3 separate regions of the Homo sapiens genome follow, and all the other regions are linked to region 1. Evidence: promoter capture Hi-C in 16 types of primary human blood cells and fetal thymus (Javierre and others, 2016). All regions are on one chromosome and are shown on one strand. The core of a region is centred on a gene start or on the middle of the fragment in contact, and the rest is flanking DNA. Distances in the headings are between cores, read along the strand shown.

What was found. The method cuts DNA at HindIII sites, captures the fragments that hold promoters and counts their contacts. A CHiCAGO score of 5 or more calls a contact.
Region 2: a fragment that was not itself captured here is called in contact with the fragment with the promoter of TMEM30B in region 1 in 1 of 17 cell types (total CD8 T cells); the score reaches 5.1 in total CD8 T cells.
Region 3: a fragment that was not itself captured here is called in contact with the fragment with the promoter of TMEM30B in region 1 in 1 of 17 cell types (total CD8 T cells); the score reaches 5.4 in total CD8 T cells.

What each region holds. Positions count from the first base shown.
Region 1 is chr14:61,279,144-61,283,500 of GRCh38, forward strand. TMEM30B (transmembrane protein 30B) reads right to left here and starts at 2,195. Exons shown (of 1, transcript NM_001017970.3): 1 at 1-2,195. The coding sequence starts at 2,004. The coding sequence ends at 949. It also overlaps a transcript of PRKCH not described here. RefSeq lists an enhancer at 657-1,620. The HindIII fragment of the contact is 12,699 bases long and covers 1-4,357 here.
Region 2 is chr14:61,429,094-61,433,507 of GRCh38, forward strand. All of the region lies in intron 2 of PRKCH (protein kinase C eta), which reads left to right. Among named protein-coding and RNA genes, the nearest start is that of PRKCH-AS1, 110 kb to the left of the region's middle. The HindIII fragment of the contact is 5,538 bases long and covers 1-4,414 here.
Region 3 is chr14:61,520,657-61,524,528 of GRCh38, forward strand. All of the region lies in intron 10 of PRKCH (protein kinase C eta), which reads left to right. Among named protein-coding and RNA genes, the nearest start is that of PRKCH-AS2, 23 kb to the right of the region's middle. The HindIII fragment of the contact is 1,920 bases long and covers 1,089-3,008 here.

The DNA of each region.
Region 1 (4,357 bases), core at 945-3,444:
TTTCGAGTTTCTACACAGTACCTGGCAAAGTTTGCCTGTTGGCTTTTACACCAAAATACTAAAATATCAAATGAATCACATAAACCCTGTCCTACAACTCTGTATGCCAACTAGTTTTCCCCAGATAGTAATTTTTTAAAAATTCATTCCACAAATCATCAAGAGCTTCCTACGTTCAAGGCAGAGTGCCAGACCAAACCTGGAACATCATGGTTGTCACTGCCCCTGGGAACAAATTACTATCCGAAAAAGTGAATTCAGTTGACTGCTTCAGGCCCAACCTGGTTCAGGGTCGTGATTCCCAAATTTGAGGGAATATGGGACTCTCCAGTGGAGTTTGTTAAAACACAGCTTCGAGGATCTCATCCCAGCCTTACTGTGTCTGAATCTCTGTTTGGTGTCTCCTAATCTACCTGCATATTTAACAAGCATGTTCTCCCTCACGCCTCCACGTCTCTGCAGGTAATTTGTGGGCCTCACTCTCCATTCCAGCCCACTCTCCCCGACCAAAGAAAAGAAAACCACTGTACTGTAGTGGCGAAAGCCCTGGACTCAAGATTCAGGAGTCACTTGCAGCTGCCTGATCTTTGTTACTTCACATTGCTAGGTCTCTCAATCTCTTCCTCTAATAGGGGTTTAATAGGAGTCTCCATAGGGATCCCTTCCACTCTCAGACTTGAAGAACCTCACATGGCAACTCAGTGTCGTGAAGGAGGTGGGAAGAGTTTGCAAGGATGTTTCACTCTGCAGTCAACATCCCTCCCCGCGGCAAGACAGTCTAGCAGCCCCCCAAGAGCAAGGGGGGTAATTCCCTTATCTGGTCCCCTCATTCACAAAGGGAGGAAAAGCTAGGCGAGGTTGGAATTGGGTGACGGGCGAGGAGGAGATGCCAAAAGCACCTTGCAAGAGTTTTGGCAAGAAGCAGGAGGGATCCCTGGAAAGCCGGAATCACTCCTCGTCGTCGTCGTCCTGGTCCTGGTAGCGAATGTAGACGACCAGCATGACAAAGCCGGTGAGGATGCAGAGGGAGCCGACGACCAGGTAGGCGATGCCCAGGAAGGGGTTCTTGCCACCCATCCACGAGATGCTGCTGAAGATGAGGAGCTTGTGGCCGCCGAACGCGCGCACCGGGTAGTTGTAGGTGATGTTGACGCGGTAGGCGCCCCGCGGCAGCCCGGCCGAGTAGTTGCCCTGGCGGATGCGCGCGTACAGTTTGCGGAACGTGGGCAGCGCCGCCGTGCGCATCCACACCACGAAGTCCTGATTGATGAAGCCGGTGTTGTTGGGGTCGGGGCTGAGCTCGTAGACTGGCCGGCGCCAGTTGGGCGGGGGCGCCGTGCCCTGGAAGGCCAACGCCAGGCTGCCGTTGACCAGCGGCGGGTTGCGGAACTTGACGTGGTAGTCGGTCCACCAGGCGATGCCGGAGCGGTCGAGCGGCACCTCGACGTAGGGCCCGCCGGGCTGGCGCTGGTGCCAAAGCGAGAAGGAGTCGTTGAAGAGGCTGTTGGCGATGGCGCCGCAGGGCGCGATGGGCAGGCCGGCCGCGCTGCGCTGGTAGGGGGCGCACTCGTTGACAGGGTGGCGCAGCGCGCTGGGGAGTCCGCTCAGCTGCGCGTCGTCGCGGGACACGCCGTAGCGCCGGTTGTTCTGGTAGAAGTTGGTCAGCTCGTAGTAGAGGTACACTGGGCCCTGGAAGAGCTCGGGCAGCGAGAAGTACCAGGCGCACGAGCAGGGGGGCGGCAGCGCCCGGCCCTGGCCAGCCGCGGCGCACACCGAGCAGTTACCGGTGCCCGGGTCGCCTGTATAGTCGTACTCCAGCTCCTTGATGCCGTTGGAGGAGTAGTAGAGGCCCAGGCCCAGGCCGATGAAGGCCAGGCCCGCGCAGAAGAAGAGCGGCAGCGCGATGCTGGCCGACAGCAGCGGCTGCCAGGCGGGGAGGCGCTGCTGAGTGAAGGCGGTGTTGTCGGGCTGGTGGGCGCCCCGGGCCGTGGCGCTCCAGGTCATGGCGGCCGCGCGGGGACCGACGCGCGGGCTGACCGAGTGGGGGCCCCGCCGCGGGGCGCCTCCCTCTCCGCGCCGCGCAAGCCCGGGGACTGCTCGCGGGTCGGGTTTCCCGCCAGCTCAGGTGGGTTTTTGCCCGGGCCCCTCCTCTGCCTCCGTCACAGGTGAGTTTAGTTCCAGGCCCTACGAGCAGTGCCCACACCCTCCCAGTTCCGCCTCCGCCCAGGTGCGCTGCACCCCCGCGGGTCACCGGGAGCCGCACCTCGCCCGCCCCTTCCGAGGTGAGCAGGTGGGTGTTTTTTACCTCACCTGGTAGACTCAGTCTCGCGTTTCCTCTCAGTCCAGGTCATCGGACTCCACCTCCTCTCCTAGGTGAGTGGCGGCCCCGGGCTGCCTCTGAGTGGCTCCTACCTGGCTCAGGTACCACCTTCTCTTCCGCCTTCCAAGTGACTAGAGTTCCTGGGCCAGTCTCCCGAAATCAAAAGGCGCTCCGGCCTCCAGCAGAAATTTTTGCTGAGGGCTTGCACCGTGGTCCTGGAGGCTTGAAGATTTCAGATCCTTAATCCTCTGTTATTTGCGGGGAAAAGGTGGCTCTAGACCATTTTGTCTTTTAGGTTAGCTTCACAAACCGCTTTCGCCCAGCTTTCAGTCTCAAGTTGGGAGTGTCCAGGGAATTACGTTATGATAAATCTGTTTCGAATTCAACGCCTGCGTTCAAATTTTAGCTTTTTTTTTTTTTTTTTTTTTTTTTTTTTTTAAGGGAAAATGATTTTCTGGCCAGATCACCCAGTCTGGCTGTATAACTAGGAAATGTGGAAAGTTCTCTAAAAATAAAATCATCCTTAAAAAGAATCAAAGGCTGGAGAGGTTCAGAGCCTTTAAATAACTCTTAGCTGGTGTGGAGAAACCAAGAAAGGAAAAAATGTGCTGGACTACATGTGATTTCGTTTTCTTTTCAGATTATTTGCCTGACTAGAGAAAGGCCCAATCCAAGGTCCCAGGAGACCTAGCTGCTATCCACAAAAACATCTGGAGTGTCTGGCCTAAGGAAGTAAACTACAAGGATTTATAGGATTTATTATAAAAAGAACTCAAATTAGCTCCCTATGTTGCCTGGGATTCTGGCTTTTTTTTTTTTTTTTTTAAATCTAGGTTGGTAAAACATATACAAGGGGGTATTGGGACGTTCTGATTTCTTACTAAATCTAAATCTTCCCTAGGTATTGTGTTCTTGCTTCTCCTCCAGCTTGTAAAATGCAAGTAATACAAATGTTTTCTCTATTACACTACACCTAGCATAATATATTATATTCAGGAGTCATTCAAAACCCATTGAACTTGGAAAGTTAAAATCCTTATTAAATTTAACAGAGGAATGTTGTTAGCATCTTCCAAGTGTTCAGTCCTATGCTAATTAGACAAAAAAGGACCTTTGACCTCAAGGCATTTGCAGTTTGATAGGGGACATATTAGGAGTAAGAAACAATCAAAATAGCCAATAATAGCTATGAATCATAGGGTGTAATCAAGTATCAAATTGCATTCTACAAGTCACATTAAAATTAAAAAGTAATATTGATTTAATAATGGAACATTGATTCCAGTTTGTTAAATGAATGCAAGTTGGAAACCAGGTATTATAGAAGACTGAGGGAAATTCAAGTGACTTGAATTTCAATTCCCTCACTTCTTATCATACCCAAAGAGAGGAAGTTCCAAAATTCTCAGCAAGTTCCCACAGTGTGATCCAGTCTCCAGTCACCCTTTTTTTCAATAAAAGAATAAATAGTTCTTTGTATCATTATGGTTGAGTTCCACCCACCCGTTTCATTGAATCACTAGTCCACAAAACTCGTCTCTAGGAAGGAATTCAGTTTTCACAACTTTTGTAGATTTTTTTTTTTTTGAGAGAGAGGTGTCTCCCTCAGTTGTCCAGGCTTGTCTCAAACTCTTGAGCCCAAGAGATCCTTCTGCCTCAGCCTCCCAAATTGTTGGGATTATAGGTGTGAGCCATCACACCAAGCCTATCTGGTAAATCTTAAGTCTTTTTTCTAGTAGATCACCACCACACCCCTAAAAGGGCAAGCCCCATTCTTGAGCTCAGAGCCTTTCCTCCTTTTCTCCTATTCCTGGATGGCCTAAAGGTACTAGTTTATTCATTCCACTAATTAAGGTGACAGATTTTCAAAGTCAAAAGAGAATATTTCAAGACAAGGAATGGTCAGCAGAGTTAAACACAGCTGAGGGTTCAAGTGAGATAAATGAAAAGGAATTATGGGGTTTGACTTTTGTGGGAACACTTTGGGTGGTTTGTGTGGCAGGAATGAGGTTACCATCAGGTGCAGGGAAAGGGAAG
Region 2 (4,414 bases), core at 1,121-3,620, 150 kb after region 1:
ACTCCTAGCATTTTGCATGAGTTTCTGTTGGTCTGGAGAATAGAAGGAAGCATGAAAGGTTTCATTCCTTGCAAATCAAGTGAAACTGGCTCCTACCCTCTTCTTCAATACAAACATGAAACAGAAAAAGTAGACTGGAAGACCAGAAAGGGCACAGATTTTTATACCATTTTCATCAGGATTACTATGTTCATGTTATGGAACCAATTTGTAAGTTTTGGGTAACAGCTTAAATAGAAACCTATAGAACTGAGGCAACCTTCTGTTTCTCAAAGACAGATGGTGAAGCAACATTTATAAATGCTTTACAGTTAGAGAGCATATGCTCTCGTCCACTGTTTTTTGTCTTTGTGATCAAAGAAGGATTTGAGGAATTTCTTTTAAAAATCAGTCTGTACAATAACTGAGTACATTACTTTCAGATAATGGAGAATAGTCACACCCATTGTTTTCAGGGCCTCAGGGAATCCTAGAATGTGTGTCTTGTGGACTGTGTCATAGTTGGCTAGTTACAGTGGCAGTTACTAAAATCAAATCTGTTTCAATTAATAAAGAACTTGACAATGAAACTAACAAGACCCATTCTAAAGACGCCAGGAAAATAAAATAAAAACCCATATGTACTAGGAATTGTAAATAGAGAGGAAGCAGAAACAATGTAATTTGAATTATCTTATTAAAATTTTAAAATATTAAAATTTAACTAGTTTCTCTTATTCAGCTAGAGACGGTATAAAAACTTGGCAGAAGTGTGATTTTTGTCTATCTGCTGGCCAGAATAATACTATATAGATGGGATTTTGTAGGTTTTAGTCTCTCTACCCCGCTGTCTTCCAATATGTATGCAGAAAAAGTAAACATGATCCCTAACCTTTCTGAAACCTTCTTTACCTTCAGTCTACACATACATAGTCTTGGGCAAAGAGTTATCAGGTAAATTCCATGGAATCAAGAGTAGAGGCATATGTTGCTTTTCTTAATAGGAAAAACAGTGACTGTGTCCCCCTAAATAAAGTCATGATTCAATGAAAAGACAAACAGCCCAATTTTAAAAAAATGAGCAAAAGATTTGAACAGACATTTTCTCAAAAGAAATATGAATGGGCAATACACACATAGAAACATGCTCAGCAATTTTAGGCTTTAGGGATATGCAAATTAAGACCACAATGAGATACCACTAGAAAGGCTAAAATGAAAAAGACCAACAACACTAAATGTTGGTGAGACTGTGGAGCACTAGAACTTTTCATATTTTTAGTGGGAGTTCAAAATGGTACAACCGCTTTGAAAAATGGTCTGGCAGTTTCTTACAGAACTAAACAGACCACTACCTTGTTACCCAGCAGTTCTTAGGTATTTACCCAAGACAAATGAAGCATATCTCTGTCAATAGAAAAGCAGATGCCAGCCATGGTATGATTTTGAACAGCCAGTGGAATAAAAGAATAGGGACTATATCTGACCTTGCTGTTAGAGTAGTTAGGCAGATATGAGCGGGGCAGGAGAGGCCCCCCTCCCCCACAGGAATGTCAGGCAACCATCAGGTGATGGTCAGGTGGTTGTTAAACTGTCTCACTAACATACTAGTTGGTCACAGCTTGCACCAGGGAAAGCAGACTCCCAGTAGATAGAAAACACCTTAAGCTCTTAATCAGCAGCTTCCTTTTTTTTTTTTTGAGATGGAGTCTTGCTCTGTTGCCCAGGCTAGAATGCGGTGTCGTGATCTCAGCTCACTGCAATCGCTGCCTCCCGGGTTCAAGCGATTCTCCTGCCTCAGCCTCCCGAGTAGCTGGGACTACAGGCACGTGCCACCACGCCTGGCTAATTTTTTATATTTTTAGTAGAGATGGGGTTTCGCCATGTTGGCCAGGATGGTCTGGATCTCCTGACCTCGCGATCCGCCCGCCTCGGCCTCCCAAAATGCTGGGATTACAGGCGTGAGCCGCGGCACCCGGCCAATCAGTAGCTTCCTCATAGGATCTCAGGCGTTGGATGAGTGGGCTCAAACTTGCATGCTAAGAGACAAAATGGTGGAGTTTAGCTGGTGTATGACCTTCCTCTAGGAACACTCAATTGGTAAGGGAAAAATGCCTCAAATGAACATGTGCACAGCTTCAGTAAACACACTGTACATGCGGCCCTTCCCAAGTGCTGGCAGGCCACTGCACATGCGGACAGCCCACCCCAAGGAAAAACCAAGGGAGGAGAGACACAAACCTCAGCACCATGCCATTGTGTAAAAATCCCAAGTCAAGCGTCGGACAGGGTCCTCGGATCTCTCAAATTGCCCACTTGGCCCTCTTCCACGTGTACTTTGCTTCCTTTCATTCCTGTTCTCAAACTTTTTAATATACTTTAACTCCTGCTCTAAAACTTGCCTTGGTCTCATTCTACCTTATCCTCTCTGGCCAAATTCTTTCCTCCAAGGAAGCAAGAATCGAGTTGCTGCAGACCCATATGGATTCGCTGCTGCTAATGTTGCCATTTGGATTTTTTTTTCTTTTTAGAGTGTTCTAGAATGCATGCTTAGAGAAGGGAATGTAATCCTAGGACACCACTCAGCTCTGCAACAGTATAGCTCTGCAGTAATGAGTAAATGCTGTTTGTTGGTTTACTTTAAAGCTCTGCTACTGAATATATACAAATATACTGTTATATTTTCCTGGTAAAACCTTTTATTATACAATCACTTCTTTTTATTTCTAGCAATTCTTTCTTTTACAGTGTATTTTATCTGACGTTAATGTGGCTGCATTGCATGTCTTTTGGCTAGTATTTGCCCTGCTTTGCATCTTCTTTAATTCATTTACTTTCTACTTTTTCTACCTATGTCTTAGGTTTGTGCTTTATAAACAACAGGTGGTTAGATTTCCTATTTCTAGAAGTTTATTGAGATTCTCCCTCTACCACTGTCTCTACCAATTCCATTTTTTCCCACCTCTATTGGTTTGGAAGATAGAATCTCTCTCTCTTTTTTTTTTTTTTTAAGTGATTATACTTGGAATTTTAACATGTCTGTGTAACTAAGTCTAAAGTTAGCTACCACTTTACCCTCCTACTGAGCAATCTAAGGATGTTAGAATGTTTTTAACTCCAGTCACTTTCCTCCTGGCTTATGTGCATTTCCTTGATATTTTTGATATCTTTTTATTTTTCTTTTGAAGCTCCATTAACTAGATGTTATTAGTTATTCCATCCTTCTTTGTTTCTATTTACTTACATGTTTATAATTTTTTAACATACCACTTTCTTGTATAGCTCAAACCTTCCCTCGAACATTTCCCTCCTTCTTCAAGTAGATTCTCTTCAAGTACATTCTTTATTTAGCGAAGGTATTTGGTAGTGAACAATCTCAGTTTTCTGAAATATCTTTATTTTGCCCTCATTCTGGAAAGCTAGTTTCTTACTTTATTTTTTTAATAGACAGAGGGTCTTGCTTTGTTGCCCAGGCTGGTCTTAAACTTCTGGCTTCAAGCAGTCCTCCTGCCTTGGCCTCTCAAAGTGCTGGGATTACAGGCACGAGCCACTGCGCCCAGCAGTAACGCTAGTTTCACTGGGATCATGGACTCTTAAGAGCTAGAAGGAACTTCACTGATTATTTGACTCAGCCTTTTCCATTTCCAGAAAAGCCTGCCACCAGGCACAGAAAGAATACATGACTTCCAGAGTCCCTCGCTATATTGTCCAGACTGGTTTTGTACTCCTGGCCTCAAGTGATCCTCCCACTTCAGCCTCCCAAAGTCCTGAGATAATAGGCGTGAGCCACCGTGATCCCCTTTACCTTTTTCTTTTTTTTTTTCCTTTATTTCTTCTTAATAAAAAAAAAGTGGGGGGGATACATGTGCAGAGCGTACAGGTTTGTTACATAAGTATACGTGTACCATGGTGGTTTGCTGCACCTATTGACCTGTCCTCTAAGTTCCCTCCCCTCACCCCCCAACCTCTTCAAAAAAAAAAAAAAAAAACTATCAAAAAATGGTGGCCGAGGTTCAAAGCTCTCACCTTGGTTTTGTGATAAAGGTGGTTAATCTTTGGTGTTGGATTTCAAATTAGTCTGTTTACAGTGAGCAACAGTACAGCAGTTTTAAAAATCATGTTGAATCAGAAACATGAAGAAGGCAGCAGAGCTTTCTCTCCACCATGCACTTGGAGAAGGAAATGACTCGGCAGCATACTCCTCATGGCTAATATCCTTTAAGATTTTTCCAAAATCATGAAACCAGAACTTGAGAGCTTAAAAGGGACTTTAGAAGTCTACCAGTGGATAAGAGAGAAAAAAAAATCAAAAGGGAAATGGAATAAGCCAAACTAAAGGGCAGGATTCTTTTAGTTCTCAGCAGGAAACATATGTTTATCTGGAAAAGATTTTGGTTGGACAGGTTGTTTGTGTAAGAATCTTTTTTGTGAGGAA
Region 3 (3,872 bases), core at 799-3,298, 240 kb after region 1:
ATTAATAGTCAAGAAATGAAGTTGAAACAATGAGCTCATTTTTCACTGGCGGTTTGGCAAGAATTAGAAGGATGATTCCATCTAGCCTGAACAAGGAAGCCAAAACATTGACACTTTCATGTGCTACTGGTGGGAATATAAATTGATGCAACCCTTTTGGAAAACAGTTTCTCTACATCTGTTTAAATTTAAAATATTTATGCCCTTTGATATGGCATTTCTACTTCTAAAAAAATGTATCCTAAATAAACACTCCCACAAGTGTGCAAATCATGTTCATTACTCCATTGTTTGAAGTTGCAAAAAATTTAAAACAACCCAAATGTTTATGTAGAGGAACTGGTTAAATTGTGGTAGATTTTTACAGTGGAATTGTATGCAACCATTATAGAGAATGAGCCAGAGGCATAGGAGATATAAATATGTCCAAGACAATTGTTGAGAAAAGTATTTTACTGTATAATATTGTGTTAGTGTAGCATTGAGAAGAAAAGTTTGAAAGACTGAACCCATCATCATTTTCTCTATACCTTTTTCAGGAATGATCAATTTTATATAATGAAAATATTACTTTTATAATCAAAAAAACATTTTCAGATAACATTTAAAAATTCTATTATAAACATTTCCTTACATTTTTAGTCCTTCATAAAAATTTGGCAGCTTTCATAAGATTCTGTCATAGAAATACCATTATTTATTTAGCCATTCCACGGTTGATACATAATTTAGCTTTTTTTCAAATTATATATGATGCAGCAACCAATATCTTTGTAAAATAAGATTCTTAATTTTACACTCACAAGAGTATCATATCACATAGCAGAGATTGAGAATTTAACCTGAAAATAATCCATTGGGTGATTCTGAATGTACAAGATTGATGTTTTTCTAATCTTTTTATTTTATTTTATTAATTTTTTTTTTTTAAGATAGAGTTTCACTCTGTTGCCCAGGCTGGAGTGCAATGGTGTGATCATGGCTCACTGCAGCCTTGACCTCCCAGGCTCAAGTGATCTTCCCGCTTCGGCCTCCCAAAGGGCTGGGATTCAGGCGTAAGCCACTGTGCCCGGCCTTAATCTTTTTAAAGCTTACCTGGACTATAGGTGGCCCATATGGAGGCAAAAGATTTGGGCCCCACTCTCTAGGCACACAGCTCTGCTACCCTACTCTAAGTATAATTTGTCACTAGTTTTTGTAGTCTCAGTGTAAAAAAGAGCAGAGATCTTGGCCTCAGGAGATCCTCTTCCCAAGGCTCAGTCCCAGGCTCTCTCCTTATTTCATTCCTTCTCCTGAGGTGAACTCATCCACACCCAGGTAATGACTCTCAAATTTATAGCTCCGAACCAGCCTTCCCTTTGACATCTAGCCATGTGTATTCAGCTGCTTAAATATCTCCACCTGTATGTCTAAAAAAAGTAGCTCAATCTGTCCAAAATAAATTCTGTGATCCAGAACCTGCTGATGCCTCCTTCCCTTTATCCTTTACATCCTTCCATTGCTAAATCCCATTGCTTTCCCCCAGTAGTTCTTGACACATCTAGTTCTCTTTACCTTACCACCCTCCCTATACCAGGCCACCATCATTTATCTCCTGGATACTCTAGTAGCTTCCCAAATGATCTCCTCATGTTCATTCTCAACTCCTCTGATATGGAGTCCTGTAAAATCGAAAATCTAATGCCATCCCTCTCCTGAGTCAGAGTTTTCCATGGTTTATTGGGCTAAAGACTGAAATCCTCACTGGCCCCTGCCTCATCTGGTCCCTGCTCTCTCCTGTCTCCATGCTCTCTTCTCTCGCCACCCAGGACTCCAACCACACTAGTCTTCATTTCTTGACTGAACCCCCTCACCTCTGTTCCTTCCTTCTGAAATTCTCCTTACCCTCACTTTCCCTTCTTTCTGTCTCTTCACTTGGTTAATAATCTTCACAGCTCAGTTCAAATGTCACTTTCCTGGGAAATCTTCCCCCAGTGCTAGGTCAGGCCATCCCTTGATCTATTCCCATGTTTTCTCCTCATTGCACTCATCACAGTTGATAATTGTAAATTTAGTTGTGTGGTGATCTGTCTGCTTCTCCCACCAGACATTAACCCCCTTGTGGGTAGAGATGGTGCCCCCTTTGCTTACTATTGTATCCCAACATCCTGGCATATGGCCAGGCTCATGGACAATACTAAAGAATGGTTGGGTGGGTGAAGGGATGGATATCTCGTGTCAGGTGATGCATGAATGGCACTACTGTCTAACTCACGATGAAACCAAATGTTATGCTTTTGCTAATTCAGTGACTTTTCAAAAGTCTTTTGCCCATTTAATACAATCCATCTTGCTTTGAAAAAACTTTAAGTATAAACCCAGGCACTCAAAACACAAGCCAGTCCTAAGTAGTTTTATTCTAAAATTAAGACCATAACCCACATTCACTCACTTGGCAGATGCCCCCTTTTCACACTTACCTACATGCTAGTTCCTCCTCCTCAGTGGAAGGCAGCAAATGATCTGCACATTTGACCACTTGAGAGATTTGCTGTGCACTCCCCTATGCCTGTATCCTCAAGGACTCTGTAAAATCCATTGAACTCTATGCACAAGCTAAGAAAAAAACCTTGCTTTGCAGTATTTCGATTATGCATTTCATAGTAATATGCATAAAACATCCCTCTATCATAGTGCCATCTTAGAATATTTATTGATTCCCTCAGGTGGTTCTTGTTTCAATTAAAGTCCTTTTGGGAAACAATCTATCCGGGGGATTGGCCGGTGACACTGCTACATAGAAGGGATTGGGCCTGGTGTAGTAAGTCACAAGCCCAGGCCTTGGAGGTGAGCAGAAGTAAATCTGAATCCTGATTTTACCCCTGTCTAGCTATATAATCTTGGGGTAGAGCCTACTTCATAGAGTTATTTTGAGGATAAAATAAGAATATAGATAAAGCACTTAGCATTTGATGAACATTCAGTATATGTTAACCACTGAAGACACTGTTATTCTTGTTATTCACAAAAGCTTTTTTCCAGGTTTTCTAGACAGACCCACAGACTCACCACCCCCAAATGAGCAACAGACAAATGGCAGTATGCTGACAATCATAAATTGACTGTGTATTTTATGATAATGGGTATCAAAGTTGTACTCTATTAAAGAATTATTATCTTTGAGATTCAGATATTAAAATGTGTATAGATGAAATAGCTCATATCCTGGATTTGTTTCAAAATAATCTGATAAAAGATGGATCAGGGAGGGAGGGAGTCGATGTAGCGAGGGAGCATGTTTGGACGTGCATTGGCAGGTGCCGAGGCTGTGTGATCAGTATGGGAGTTGTGTCATTCTCCCTACTTTTGTCTGTTTTGAAATTTCCCATAATAAAAGTTGAAAAATATGTTAAAAATAGTTCATATAAATAGCCTCCTAGATTCATTCTTGTTCAAGGAGCCAGCTCTCAACTCGCTTTCCTTTATTTCTTTTGGAAGAGTAACTGACTCTAGTGATCTAAGCAGTAAGACTCATGTCAATCTGTTTTATTACTCTCAGGATAGCTTATGGTGGAAACAAAATAAATCCAATTTCTGAATCTCCTTTGTCTTCAATCACTTGGGAATTCTCTCTGAAACTACTGTGGGCATTTTAAGTAACCCTGATTACCCAGCAAGAACAATGTAGCTTTCAGACAAGCACAGAGGATAGAATAACTCTTTCTACCCTTCTATGCTTGCATGACAAAAGCTGTAGCTATTAAATACCGGTGCTCAATGAGCTAATGAATGGCAAGCCGGTAACTGTGGTTTTGGCATTTTAGTATTTGAGCCTCTGCCCTGTATGAACTTGTAATCTTCATTGTGTAGCCTTGTTAAGTTCAGCTGCTGAG